Regions from separate parts of the Homo sapiens genome. Here regions 2, 3 and 4 are each linked to region 1. Evidence: promoter capture Hi-C in human tissues and cell types (Jung and others, 2019). All regions are on one chromosome and are shown on one strand. The core of a region is centred on a gene start or on the middle of the fragment in contact, and the rest is flanking DNA. Distances in the headings are between cores, read along the strand shown. Region 1 holds the start of MLANA (melan-A). Region 2 has its middle 43 kb from the start of IL33. Region 3 overlaps LOC107987046 (a long non-coding RNA gene). Region 4 overlaps IL33 (interleukin 33).

Region 1 (3,582 bases), core at 1,068-3,567:
TTGGCCCTGGAACTGCTAACGAATGTACAGGGCAGTGGTGGTTCAAGAAGTTTTGCAAAGGAGATGAGAGCCTGGAAGATGAGGAGCTGGCCACTGGAAGTTGACAACGACCAGTTGAGAACAATCATCGAAGCTGATCCTCTTTCAACTACACTAGAAATTGCCGAAGAACTCAACGTCGATCATTCTACAGTTGTTCAGCATTTGAAGCAAATTGGAAATGTGAAAAAGCTCATTTAGTGGTTGCTTCATGAGCTGAGTGAAAATTTAAAAAACGGTCTTTTTGAAATGTTGTCTTATCTTATTCTACACAACAACAAGGAAGAATTTCTCAATTGAGTTGTGATGTACAATGAAAAGTGGATTTTATATGATAACTGGCAATGACCAGCTCAGTGGCTGGTCTGAGAAGAAGCTCCAAAGCACTTCCCAAAGCCAAACTTGCACCGAAAAAAGGTCATGGTCACTGTTTGGTGGTCTCTGCTGGTCTGATCCACTACATCTTTCTGAATCCCGGTGAAACCATTATATCTGAGAAGTATGCTCAGCAAATCAATGAGTTGCACCGAATAGTACAACACCTGCAGCTGGCATTAATCAACAGAAAAAGCCCAATTGTCCATGACAGCACCTAACCACATGTCACACAACCAATGCTTCAAAAGTTGGAATAAATTGGGCTACGAACTTTTGCCTCATCTGCCATATTCACCTGACCTCTCATCAACCGACTACCACTTCTTCAATCATCTTAACAACTTTTTGCAGGGAAAATCCTTCCACAACCAGCAGGATGCAGAAAATGCTTTCCAAGAGTTCATCGAATCTTGAAGCATGAATGTGTATGCTACAGGAATAAACAAACTTATTTTTCATTGGCAAAAATGTCTTCATTGCAATGGTTCCTATTTTGATTAATAAAGATGTGTTTGAGGCTGGGCGCGGTGGCTCATGCCTGTAATCCCAGCACTTTGGGAGGCTGAGGCAGGTGGATCATGAGGTCAGGAGATCGAGACCATCCTGGCCAACATGGTGAAACCCTGTCTCTACTAAAAATACAAAAATTTGCCAGGTGTGGTGGCGTGCACCTGTAGTCCCAGCTACTCAGGAGGCTGAGGCAGGAGAATTGCTTGAACCTGGGAGGCAGAGGTTGTAGTGAGCTGAGATCCTGCCACTGCACTCCAGCCTGGGCGACAGAGTGAGTCTCCATCTCAGAAAAAAAAAATGTGTTTGAGCCTAGTTATAATGATTTAAAATTCATGGTCCGACACCGCAATTACTTTTGCACCAACCTAATTGATGTCTAAGTAGGTCATATTCTACCTGCAAAAAGAAAATTTCATCTATCCCTTTCACATAGATGGAAACCCACTATCTCCAGTGGACAGTTAACACCAAAGGCATCACAGAGAACTCATGGAGCTCAGCTGAGGAGGTTTCAGGGATTTTTCTATTTCCTTTTCTTGATTATGAGAGTCTGGGACTAGATGCTCTCCAGACCTGTGCCTAAAGACTCTTCAACCCTTTGAGATGGAGATGAGGGAGGGAATAGGGAACCCAGTTTAGTTTGGATTTCAGATCCTTTTGTGGGTCATAAGCGTGATGATTGGGTTTCCATGTTCACGTGTGAGATATGCCTCCCTCAAACCTTGTTACAATGACATGGGCACCTTACCTATCTGACATGAGAAAAACAAATGTGGATTTCAGATAAACAAAAAATAACTCTTTTAGTGTATATGTCCCATAGAATATGTGGACATATTTATCCTAAAAATATTGTATGGGACATAGTTGTATTAAGAAACTGTTCATTGTTTATCTGAAGTTCAAATTTAACTGGGCATCCTCCTCAGCTGAGCTCCATGAGTTCTCTGTGATGCCTTTGGTGTTAACTGTCCACTGGAGATAGTGGGTTTCCATCTATGTGAAAGGGATAGATGAAATTTTCTTTTTGCAGGTAGAATATGACCTACTTAGACATCAATTAGGTTGGTGCAAAAGTAATTGTGGTGTCGGACCATGAATTTTAAATCATTATAACTAGGCTCATGTCATATTTTATGTGACATGGCAATCCTATGGAGGAGGGACCAACATTTAAAATAAATGGCTTCCCTAGGATAGAGCACTGGGACTGGGGAAAACAGAGGCCACAGTCAGCTGTGACTTTTTGAAGGAAGGAATAAAGTTGGTTTCTTTCATGCCAATTTAGCAATTACAGACGACCCCGTCAGAAATCTAAACCCGTGACTATCATGGGACTCAAAACCAGGAAAAAAAATAAGTCAAAACGATTAAGAGCCAGAGAAGCAGTCTTCATACACGCGGCCAGCCAGCAGACAGAGGACTCTCATTAAGGAAGGTAAGAGCGTTGCCTTCTCGCCATAATCATAGTCCTCTTCTCCCAGAATAGGATTTGGGAAATTCTGGCTAAGTCCTCTGCCTACCCTCATTGCCCCGCTGATGTGTGACATCAACAGAATTTCTCCGCAACGTTTGTCAGTCTCCAACCTCAGAGGGCTCACAAAGCCTCCTCCTGAATCCTCTCTCAGTCCTCCAACACTACCAAGAAGAAAAGCAATTATTCAGGATGGCATCTTGCTGGGGAGAAGCAGCCTCCCTGAGGTAGATGTGTTCTCCTGTCACTTAAAGAACCACTTCTCCTGGTCTGAGTAGTAAGAGGCGCATTTGCTGTTGCTGCACCATTTGCCAAGGCTCTGAGTTTGAGGTATGGGATGTATTAAAACAATTTAATGAAGAATTAAGATTCCATTCTGTCATTTTGAACACAGGGTTCAGTCCTATATTATTCACTTGAGAGGACTGGTGAGTTTGACTTTCATTTCTTTTTTACAACTGGGAAGGGCAAATTACACATAAAATGTCCCAGTGGAAAGGGGTCATGTGTCGAAATCCCCACTCTTCTGTCTCACCTCTCCCTGTTGTTTTAAACTGGGGCTCATTAATATAATTCTATGGGGATCACACCTTTGAAATTCATGAGGACAGTAAGAGAGCAGAAAAATACACAATAATAAGGAAAGGAGCTTCCATTATTGGTTTTTAATGAGCGTACTTGAATTACGGCCACTGCAGTTTATGGATATTTTTTGTTGTTCATTTGTATGTGTTATAGTTAGAAAAAAAAAGAATCCTAGCCAAGGGACTTGAACCAGAGAGAAGCAGAAATTGACTTAAGTAGGAAGGGAAACACATTGTTAGATAAAGTCAGGTCCTGGGCTTCCTCGGCTTGTTTTGGGTGGAGTGCCTGGGGACAGGCTGAAGCCCCTGTGTGGGGTGGTTTCCTTTGCTGAAAAGCTGGGCTGGAAGATGTTGTGCTCAGTGCTCAACCTCATGCACCCTCGCGAGGCACAGGCAACGGGTGCTCTGGGAAACACACGTTATGTATCATAGCCTCTGTTTGTCTGTGGGATTGATATCCAACAATAACTTTGGAGAAAAATAACTCCTCTAATTTTGTTAGCCACAGCCCTGGGCCAGGGAAGGTGGAGAATCAGTGAAAATGCATTTTGTTTGTTTCTCTAGAAGTTTATGGTGCAGAGTCAAATTGAAGGCAAA
Region 2 (3,217 bases), core at 439-2,938, 280 kb after region 1:
TGACCAAGAAATTATAATTTTAATTCTAAATAAGGATTTTTAAAACAAAAACTACATATTGCAAGGAAAAATATAAGAATCTTTGGGTCTTAGAGTACTAAATATTTCAATACTTGGATCTTAAAATATGATTTTAAAAACTCTAGGATTTGATAGTAGTGGGTGGAAAACAGATTATGGGAAATGAAAGCATTCTAACAACAAATTAATTAGTTACAGTTTGTTTTCTTTTCTGTGTGGCTTGTTTTCTTTTCTTTACAGCTGGTTTTCATTTCCTTTCAAATTTAAAAGAGTGTATTTAACATTCCATCTTAAGGCAATGTGATAACCATGAATTCTTTGTGTGAGAAAGGAAAGAGGGAGGTTAATTTTTAATGAAAGTCGATAGTGTAGAGGAAAGAGGGTCTTCCCTGGCATCCTTCAGCCATTTACAACATTTTACAAAACAATGCAGGTAAGGGAAAAGCTTTCACCCATAACTAGAGGAAAAAAGGTTCTAGCTGCCTAGGTTACAGCAGCCTGTGATGTGACTCAAGCCTCATAATTCACATTTTTTAAGGCTCACAATAATTTAGAGTTCCAACAGCTTTGACTTTGAATTACTTATTTTCACAATAACACAAACAAAACTTGATATAATAAATGCATATATCCTTAGAATTGACAATATATATTTTATATGACCATGATTTGTACAAAAATTGTATTTGCTGCAAAAAACATTAAAATATAAAACAGTAAAGATTTTTAAAACCACAAACTCTGATCCTCATCCAATAAAATCAGAAATATATCATATAAAAATGAAGTGACAAGAGGGCAGAATAGAAGGTAACCCGCTCATATCTCCCTATAAGAATTCTGCATCCATCCATGGTAAAAAGTCACTCTGCAGGAGCCTCAGGATTGAGGTAGGAGTTTGTGAAACCCTAGTGAAGTCCAAGACATCAGAGGATCATTTGCAGAGGGAAGACCTACACATAGGTGGCTGATCCACCAAGCTTGTTCCTGGGTTCAAGCCAGAAAATGACCCAGTCTCCCAAGGGGTTTGGATACAACCCCACTTGGCCTTGATCCTGCAACCAAAGCCATCTGCCGAGGAGTCAAGAAGGAATTGTGCACACTAATAGAAAGGCTCATCTACCCACTGACAGTCGTGTTGGCAGTCAATCTGAACGTTGCTCTCTGGTTCTGCTCCAGCCCCCTCAGGTGAGGTCCCAGCTCAGAGCTGCTTACATAAGGATCCAGAGGGAGACTTGCCCATAACTTGCAGCCCAGTAGTCTGAGCCTCTCAGACAGGCTAGAGCTTGTAAACCTCTGTTCCACAACAGATACCAAGGAGGCCCAGTCTCAGCTCTGGCCTCTCACACTGCAACCAAGGAACTATTCCATCTTTACAGAAACTTGCTGGGAGAATGTGTCTCTCTGAGCCAATGAGACAGGGCTCTCCAGGTTCTGCCCCACAGCAGATGTCAAGGGGGCCCCATCTCAGCAACACTCCATCCTGCTGCAGTTGGGGAACTATCCCATCTATGCTGATACCTGCTTGGAGATGTATACCTGTTTAAGCCAATGAGAAGGGCTCTTCAGCTTGTCCCACAGCAGATCCTGAGGGGCCCTAGTAACCGCTCTGACTCCCCCTGCTGCACAGAACTATCCCATCTATCCAGAGACCTACTAGAAGATGCGTACCCATATAAACCACTGGGATAAGCATGCCAGTGTCTGTCTCACAGCAGGTCCCTTGGAGGTCCAGCCTCAGCTTTGGTCTTTCCTGCTGCAGTCGAAGAACTACCCTGCTTGTGCAGGGTACTGCTGGGTGACATATATCTGTCTGAGCCAACAAAATAGGCCCATCAGCTTCCTTCCCATAACAGATCCTGAGAGGGACCAATTTCAACTCCAGCCTCCCTTGCTGCAGGTGGGGACCCATCCCACATGTGCAGAAACCTGCTGAGAGGCATGCACAGGTGGGATGGGTCCCCAACTGGGGATAGCCATCCATCTTGGCCACCAGGACAGTCTTCTGGATTCAGGTCCCTGTCCAGCATTCCCACACAGCCCAAGTACCCTCCTTGAGTCTTCCCCTGATCCTTCTGGGCTGGAAAGCTGTGCCAATCTCATAGTCCTCATGAGACTTGCAGCAAGCCTGTACTTAGAGCATCTTCTACTGCTGAGATGGCTGCAGAGGTCAGAGGCTCAGAGAAAACAATAGTCAGACTGTATAGAATCCCTACAAGGATAAGCACAAAGAAAGCTAGACTACAAAGACTAAAATATTAAATAAATACTTAACCTATCAATACGCAGACATCATTTCATGTTCACAGCATTAAAAACACACACGGAAATATGACTCTTCATATGGAAAAACTAAGGTGCCAGAGGCTGACCCTAAAGGGATAGAGATATGCACTTTCTTAGACAAATAATACAAAATAGCTGTTTTAAGAAGCTTGATTGACTTCTACAAAATACACATAATCAATTCAGAAATGTATCAGAGAAATTTAACAGAGATTAAAATAATTAAAAAAAAAAAAACCCAGAAATCCTGGAGCTGAAAAATACAATGAATGAAAGGAAAAATGCAATAGATCAGCAGAACTGATCAAGCTGAACAATCAGTGAGCTTGAAAACAGAATATTTGAAAATATACAGTCAGAGGAGAAAAAAGAATGAAAAGTATAAAGAAAGCTTACAGGAATGACAGGACAACAATAAAAGAGCAATCATTCATGTTACTTAGTTAAAGAGGGAAATGAGAAAGACAAGAAGGTAGAAAGCTTTTTCAAAGAAATAATAACATAAACCTTCCAAACCTGGAGAAAGATATAAATATCCAGGTACAGGAAGGTCAAGGGTCACCAATCACTTTCAACCCATATAAGAATACCCTTAGGTATTACAATCAAACTCTCAAAGATCAAAGACAAAGAAGCGATTATGAAAGCAATGAGAAAAAAGAAGCAAATAACAGATAAGGTAGATCTGAAATGCCTGGCAGCAGACTTCTCAGTAGAAACTGTACAGGCCAGGAGAGGTGAGATGATATATTCAGAGTGCTGAAAGAAGTAAACTGCAAAGCAAGAATACTGTTTCCAGTAAAGCTATTCTTCAGAAACGAAGGAGAGATAAAGGCTTTCCTAGACAAACAAAAGCTGAGGGAATTTGTTGCTACCAGACCTGTCCTACAAGAAATGCTAACGAGAGTTC
Region 3 (3,208 bases), core at 624-3,123, 390 kb after region 1:
AGTGTGAAAGCTGCTACTGAACTTTATTCTCCTCTATCAGAAGAAGTTACCAAAATTAATGAAGCTCTTGTAGAAAATCCAGGACTTGTCAGTAAATCTTGTTATGAAGATGGTGGGCTGATCAAGATGACACTGAGTAACCCTTCAGAACTAGATGAACTGATAAATGCAGAGGCATATGAGAAATATGTAAAATCTACTGAGAGGTGAAAATGGAACCCCTAGAAAAACTAGTATGAAACAAAATTATTTAAAAAGAGTACACACTCTATGATTCTATTTATATAGCATTCTAAAAAGCCAAACACTATATTAGACAGTAGTGGTTGCCTAGGGCAGGGATGGATTACAAAAGGACAACCTTTTGCAGTGATGGAAATGTCCTATATCTTGATTGTGGTGGTGGTTATACATCCGTATACTGCTAAAACTCATCAAACTATATACTTTAAAATGATGAGTTTTACTGTATTAAAACTATCCCTCAATAAACCTGACTAAAAACTAAAGTAGAATGGCAGTCGGCCTGATGCCATGCAGTGTGGAATTCACGTACTAGCCTGTGAGTGAAACCTTTTGACATTTTTAGAGAGAACTGAAAGTGCAATGGTTTTTATAGGGTCTTTTTGTTTGTTTGTTATTAACCAATTTGAAGTCTGGTACAATGCTAAATTCCGCAGTGGGACTGGAATTTGGTTTGCCTAGAATAACAGGAAAACAAACTGCTGCTTATAGTGAGAGGTGGTAGAATATAATGGTTAAAAAGAAAACATGATTAAAATAAGATGCAACTACACACCTATTCAAATGGCCAAAATCCAAAACACTAATAATATCAAATGCTGGCAAGGATGTTGCGCAACAGGAATTCTCATTCATTGGGGGTGGGAGCAAAATGATACAGCCACTTTGGAAGACAATTTGGCAGTTTCTTACAAAACTAAATATAGTCTTACCATATAACCCAGCAGTTTCGCTCCTAAATAATTACTCAAACACTTAGTTAAATTCTAGTCAAATACTTGAGTTAAAAAATTAAATCCACATAAAAACCTACACATGGACATTTATAGCAGCTTTATTCATAATGGCCCCAAATTAAAAGCAACCAAAATGCCCTTCAATAGATGAATGGGCAATCCAGACAGTGAAATACTATTCAGCAATAAAAGGAATGAGCTATTAAGTCACAAAAAAATATGGAGGATCCCTAACTTACTAAGTGAAAGAAGCTAGTCTGAAAGGCTACATACTCTGATCCCAACTACAGTCATGCACCACACAATGACATTTCAGTCAGTGATGGACCATATATACCACTGTATCACATAAGATTATAATGGAGCTGAAAAATTCCTATTACCTACTTATGACATAATCATCATAACATCCTAGCACAACACATTCCTCATGTTTGTGATGATCCTGGTGTAAACAAACCTACTGCACTGCCAGGCATATAAAACTATAGCACATGCAATTATGTACATAACTTTTTACATACACAAACATTGTACAACTGTATAAAAGTATTTTATTTATATCCTTATCTATAAGCTTTTTTCTATTTTTTAAATTTTTTAATTCTTTTTTTTACTTTTTAAACTTTTTTGTTAAAAACTAAGACACACACACCTTAGCCTAGGCCTACACAGAGTCAGGATCGCCAATATTACTGTCTTCCACCTCCACATCTTGTCCCACTGGAATTTCTTCAGGGGCAATAACACACATAGAACTGTCACCTTCTATGATAATGAGGTCTTTTTCTGGAATACCTGGAAAAATCTGCCTGAGGCTGTTTCACAGTTACCCTGAAAAAAACATAGAGAGTGGCGGTGTCTGTGATGGTCCGGAGCGAGGCCTCGGCCAATCTGGGTGGCGTGCCCAGCGAGATTAAAGATGCAGTACGCCACGGGGCCACTGCTCAAGTTCCAGATTTGTGTTTCCTGAGGTTATAGGCGGGTGTTTGAGGAGTACATGTGGGTTACTAGCCAGGGGTACCCAGACATCCGTATTGAAGGAGAGAATTACCTCCCTCAACCAATGTATAGACACATAGCATCTTTCCTGTCAGTCTTCAAACTAGTATTAATAGGCTTAATAATTGTTGGCAAGGATCCTTTTGCTTTCTTTGGCATGCAAGCTCCTAGCATCTGGCAGTGGGGCCAAGAAAATAAGGTCTATGCATGTATGATGGTTTTCTTCTTGAGCAACATGATTGAGAACCAGTGTATGTCAACAGGTGCATTTGAGATAACTTTAAATGATGTACCTGTGTGGTCTAAGCTGGAATCCGGTCACCTTCCATCCATGCAACAGCTTGTTCAAATTCTTGACAATGAAATGAAGCTCAATGTGCATATGGATTCAATCCCACACCATCGATCATAGCACCACCTATCAGCACTGAAAACTCTTTTGCATTAAGGGATCATTCCAAGAGCAGCTTGACTGACATTATGAAGGCCTGTACTGAAGAGAGCAAGCTGTTAGTACAGACCAAATGCTTTCTTAGCATGCTCGTTGTACCTCTTGGAAAACCTCAATGCAAGATAGCTTTTCCGTGCTGGCATATTTTGGAATTCTTCACATTCATGGAGTGCAATAATACTGTATAGCTTTCCCCACCCCCCACACAATCACCCAGTTAATGTGTGTTTTTTTTTAAGGTAGACATTACTACTTGTAACTTTTTTCCTTAGTCGTATTTGAAAAAGTAGAAAATTGAGTTACAATTTGATTTTTTTTCCAAAGATGTCTGTTAAATCTGTTGTGCTTTTATATGAATATTTGTTTTTTATAGTTTAAAATTCATCCTTTGGGAATCCAGTTGAAGTTCCCAAATACTTTATAAGAGTTTATCAGACATCTCTAATTTGGCCATGTCCAGTTTATATAGTTTACAAAATACAGCAGATGCAAGATTATGGGGGAAATCCTATATTCAGAGTACTCTACAAATTTTTGTGTATGTGTGTATGTGCGTGTGATTACCAGAGAACTACTAAAAAAACCAACTGCTTTTTAAATCCTATTGTGTAGTTCAAGTGTCATGCCTTGACCAATCTAATGAATTGATTAATTAACTGGGCCTTTATACTTAACTAAATAAAAAACTAAGCAGATATGAGTTAAATTTAAAAGTTTCAATTTATTGCTCAATGTTCCTGTTAACATTATATTTAACAATTGCTTAAATTTTTGT
Region 4 (3,621 bases), core at 1,087-3,586, 340 kb after region 1:
TAGCTGTGTGACCTTGGGGAAGACCCTCCGCCGGCTCTGAGTGGCACTTTCCTCATCTGTAAAATAAGGAGTTTTAGGCCACCTCTGCAGTTTTTAATAATGCTCAGTTGACTGCAAGAAGCATCTTGGTTCTGCAAATATCAAATGTTTATTTCACAAGTTCTAGGGCTACTCTAAGACTGTAAACTTCCATCCATATTGGACGGGTGATTTTTTTCCTCCTCCAAATAGTTTTATTGTCCTCAATGACTGACATTACAATCTTCTCTTTTCTCTTTCCTTTTGAAACAAGGTCTCACTCTGTCACCCAGGGGCTAGAGTGCAGTGATGTGATCACAGCTAACTATAGCCTGGACCTCCCTAGCTCAAGCGACCCTCCTACCTCATCCACCTGAGTAACTGGGACCATAGGCACATACCACCATGCACAGCTAATTTTTCTTTTTTACGTTTTGTAGAGATGAAGGCTCATTATGATGCCCTGGCTGATCTCACTTTTTTTCTTTAATATTCTGCAATTTCATAACTAATATATGAAGATGTGGATTTTTCTTCTCTCTCTCTCTTTTTAGAGACAAGCTCTTGCTCTGTAACCCAGGCTAGAGTGCAGTGACATAATCCTAACTCACTGCGGCCTCAAACTCCTGGGCTCAAGCAATCCTCCCACCTCAGCCTCCCCACCAGCTGGGACTACAGGTGTGTGCCACCACACCCAGCTAATTTTTTTAATTATTTTTTTTTAAGAGATGGGGCCTCGCTATGTTGCCCAGGCTAGTCTTAAAACTCCTGGTCTCAAGAGATCATCCCACCTCAGCTTCCAAAAGTGCTGGGACTATAAGGCTTGAGCCACCACCCCCAGCCCTTTCTTTCTTTCTATCTGCTTGAAATTCATTGAAACTCTTGGATCTAAGGATTAGGATCTTTCAACAATTCTGGAATGTTGTCAGCCATTATTTCTTTAAATGTTGTTCCATCTCTGTTCTAGCATCTCCTTCTACCATTCCAAATAGTTATAAAACAGTCTCATTTTTCTTCCAAGTCTTTTACCCTCTTTTCATATTTTCCACCTCCAAGTATCTCTGGATTGTATTCTAAGGAATACTTCAGATATGTTCTCTAGGTCACTGACTCTTTTCACTTGTGTTTAATCTTCTGTTTAATTGAACCATTGAGTTTTAATTTCAGTAATATATCTTTTATGTCTAGATATTCTATTTGGATCTTTTTCAAATATACATGTTCACTGTTCATATTTTCAATCTTTTAGAATACTATCTAACAATATTAAAATCAGTTATTTCTGCTTGTTCTAATACACAAAGGCTTTGTGGCTTTCTGCTACCTGTTCCTTTTGTGGGTTCTCACCATGGTGTCTGGTATTCTCGTTTGCTTTGCAAATTTTGACTGCAGACTACTCATTTGTCCTGAAGACTTTTCTGTGGGAATGTTTGGTGGTTTGTGTAGCAGCTGAGTTCTTCAAGATAAGACTTGTATTTGCCTTGGGGCACTGCCAACCTAAAACTACTTTATACTTAATTTTCTATTTCAGGCTTTTGGAAGCACACAAGTAGTTTGATTTCAGACTACAAAGCCATGTAGGGGCTGACTTGTCCTGAGAAGGTAAATTCTTAGAGATATGTGTTTCCTTCCAGCAAGGGCTGGAGTTGAGACAGACAAGGTTTCTGGGTATTCCCTTCTGCCGAGTTTATTTATCTTGATCACCCTTCTATTGTGAATGTAGCCCTTTGAGAGTCCAGGTTTATGCAGCAGTTTACTGTTAGACTCTCCATCTTAGACATATCCTAAGCTTTATCTCCTGGTCCTGATTCTTTATGTAATTCTTCCTCTTTGTCTCTAGGATATAGTAGACAACTTTAGAAAAAAGCCAAGTTTGCTAGCCTCCCATTCATGCCCCCTCAATGTTGTTTGAAAAGATATTTAAAAATACATCTTGCAGCATTTTGGTTGTTTTTATCAGGAGGGCTGTTCATGGTAACTAACCCATTATTATGCTGGAAACAGCATATTTCATTAAATAACTTTATAATGAGTAAATATAAATGTAAACTTATGAAGCATATTTATATTAATAAGTTAATGATTTTGTCTTCTGTTATCTATTAGGCTTCCATGCAATATTCTTTTTTCAGAAAAGGATTCTACTCTTTACAAAGTTTTGAAAACTTCTTCCAACCATTAAGTGTAATGCTTTCTCCTTATAATGCTACTAAATCTTCTCTAGCTTGACTACCACTGATGGTATATGAACTGAGCCTCAGTCTATCACCCTCCTTACAAGGTCAAATAATTCAGGTGGAATGGGCCTAATGACATATTTTCAAACTTTTAATTTTGTTTTCTTACCAGTAAAACCTCTTCTACCTAGAAAACTTTCTAGGTAGGGGTTTTCTGCTCTGGATGCAGGGGCTAGGGAGGAAGATCTGGAATGCAACGGATTTGGATTCCTCCACCCCTTTCCTGAAGTACCTCATGAACTCTGAAAATGTTCGCTTAGGGTTTCAGCTATGAGGCCTTGGGCATTTACTTGATCCCTCTGTACCTCAGTTTCCTCATATATAAAAGAGGGATAATAATAATGCTACCCTAACAAGATTGCTGTAATAATTGAATAAGTTAAATATGTGAAGCACTTAGTACAGTTCTTGGCACATAGTAAACACTATATAAGGGCTAATTGTAAAAAATACAGGAGAGCTAGGCATGGTGGCTCATACCTCTAATCCAAGCACTTTGGGTGACCAAGGCAGGAGGATCACTTGAGGCCAGGAGTTCAAGGTTGCAATCAGCTGTGCACTTCAGTCCTGGTTACAGACCAAGACTCTGTCTCAAATAAAAAACAAAAACAAAAAAAGGAGAATTTTTATTTAACTCTACATGCTTTTGCTAAGTATTTCATACTCCTTTGAATTTTTACAAGATTCAGAATTTTTACATTACTTGTCCAATTTTATGTAAAATGCATTTAAAAAGTAAAAGAAGAAAATGATCTCAACTTTAGAGTTAAACTAAAACCAAAGGTCTCTATGTTCCATGTTGTTTTTTTTTTTCCATACATTGCTTTCTTCTAGCAGTGAGAACTTTCTGAATCCATTAAACAACAGCCAGGCATGGTGGCTCACACCTGTAATCCCAGTGCTCTGGGAAGCCAAGGTGGAAGGATCACTTGAGGCCAGGAGTTCGAGACCAGCCTGGGCAACAAAGCGAGACCCTGTCTCTACAAAAATAAAAATTTAGCCGAGTGTGGTGGCACACACCTGTATTCCTAGCTACTTGAAGACTGAGGCAGGAAGATCCCTTGAACCTAGGAGTTCAGTGAGGCAATGATCATGCCACTGCCCTCCAGCCTAGGTGACAGAGCAAAACACTGACTCAAAAAAAAAAAAAATCAGCTTTCAGATATTTGGGTACTAAAGAAAAAAACAAGTAAAAACAAAAAACCAAAAAATGCTGCAGACTCTGTGGACTTTTCTTTTCACTGTAATTTTGTCCTGCTGTAAGGTTAGTAGAAAGGAGAAGAGGAGATCACAAGGCTGAGGCAGAATTTGTGTGTTTTCTGAGGATGGTACCCTTTGTGTGAATAAGGGGCTAGTGCAGCTGCCA

The links. Contacts are between HindIII fragments. The study calls those that stand out against the background at their distance.
Region 2: a fragment that was not itself captured here is called in contact with the fragment with the promoter of MLANA in region 1 in 2 of the 25 tissues and cell types used here (H1 embryonic stem cells and spleen).
Region 3: a fragment that was not itself captured here is called in contact with the fragment with the promoter of MLANA in region 1 in 1 of the 25 tissues and cell types used here (dorsolateral prefrontal cortex).
Region 4: a fragment that was not itself captured here is called in contact with the fragment with the promoter of MLANA in region 1 in 3 of the 25 tissues and cell types used here (H1 embryonic stem cells, IMR-90 fibroblasts and mesendoderm cells).

Annotation. Positions count from the first base shown.
Region 1 is chr9:5,888,572-5,892,153 of GRCh38, forward strand. It overlaps MLANA (melan-A), which reads left to right and starts at 2,318. Exons shown (of 5, transcript NM_005511.2): 1 at 2,318-2,365. It overlaps LOC124902341 (small nucleolar RNA U13), which reads left to right and starts at 1,579; the gene lies at 1,579-1,685. It also overlaps a transcript of BRD10 not described here. The HindIII fragment of the contact is 14,558 bases long and covers 1-3,582 here.
Region 2 is chr9:6,171,507-6,174,723 of GRCh38, forward strand. No RefSeq gene overlaps it. Among named protein-coding and RNA genes, the nearest start is that of IL33, 43 kb to the right of the region's middle. The HindIII fragment of the contact is 3,793 bases long and covers 1-3,217 here.
Region 3 is chr9:6,276,765-6,279,972 of GRCh38, forward strand. All of the region lies in intron 2 of LOC107987046 (a long non-coding RNA gene), which reads right to left. It also overlaps the pseudogene SELENOTP1. Among named protein-coding and RNA genes, the nearest start is that of TPD52L3, 50 kb to the right of the region's middle. The HindIII fragment of the contact is 6,135 bases long and covers 1-3,208 here.
Region 4 is chr9:6,225,455-6,229,075 of GRCh38, forward strand. The region is part of intron 1 of IL33 (interleukin 33); the gene reads left to right. LOC107987046 (a long non-coding RNA gene) reads right to left here. Exons shown (of 3, transcript XR_001746614.2): 3 at 2,778-2,841. Among named protein-coding and RNA genes, the nearest start is that of IL33, 11 kb to the left of the region's middle. The HindIII fragment of the contact is 3,898 bases long and covers 388-3,621 here.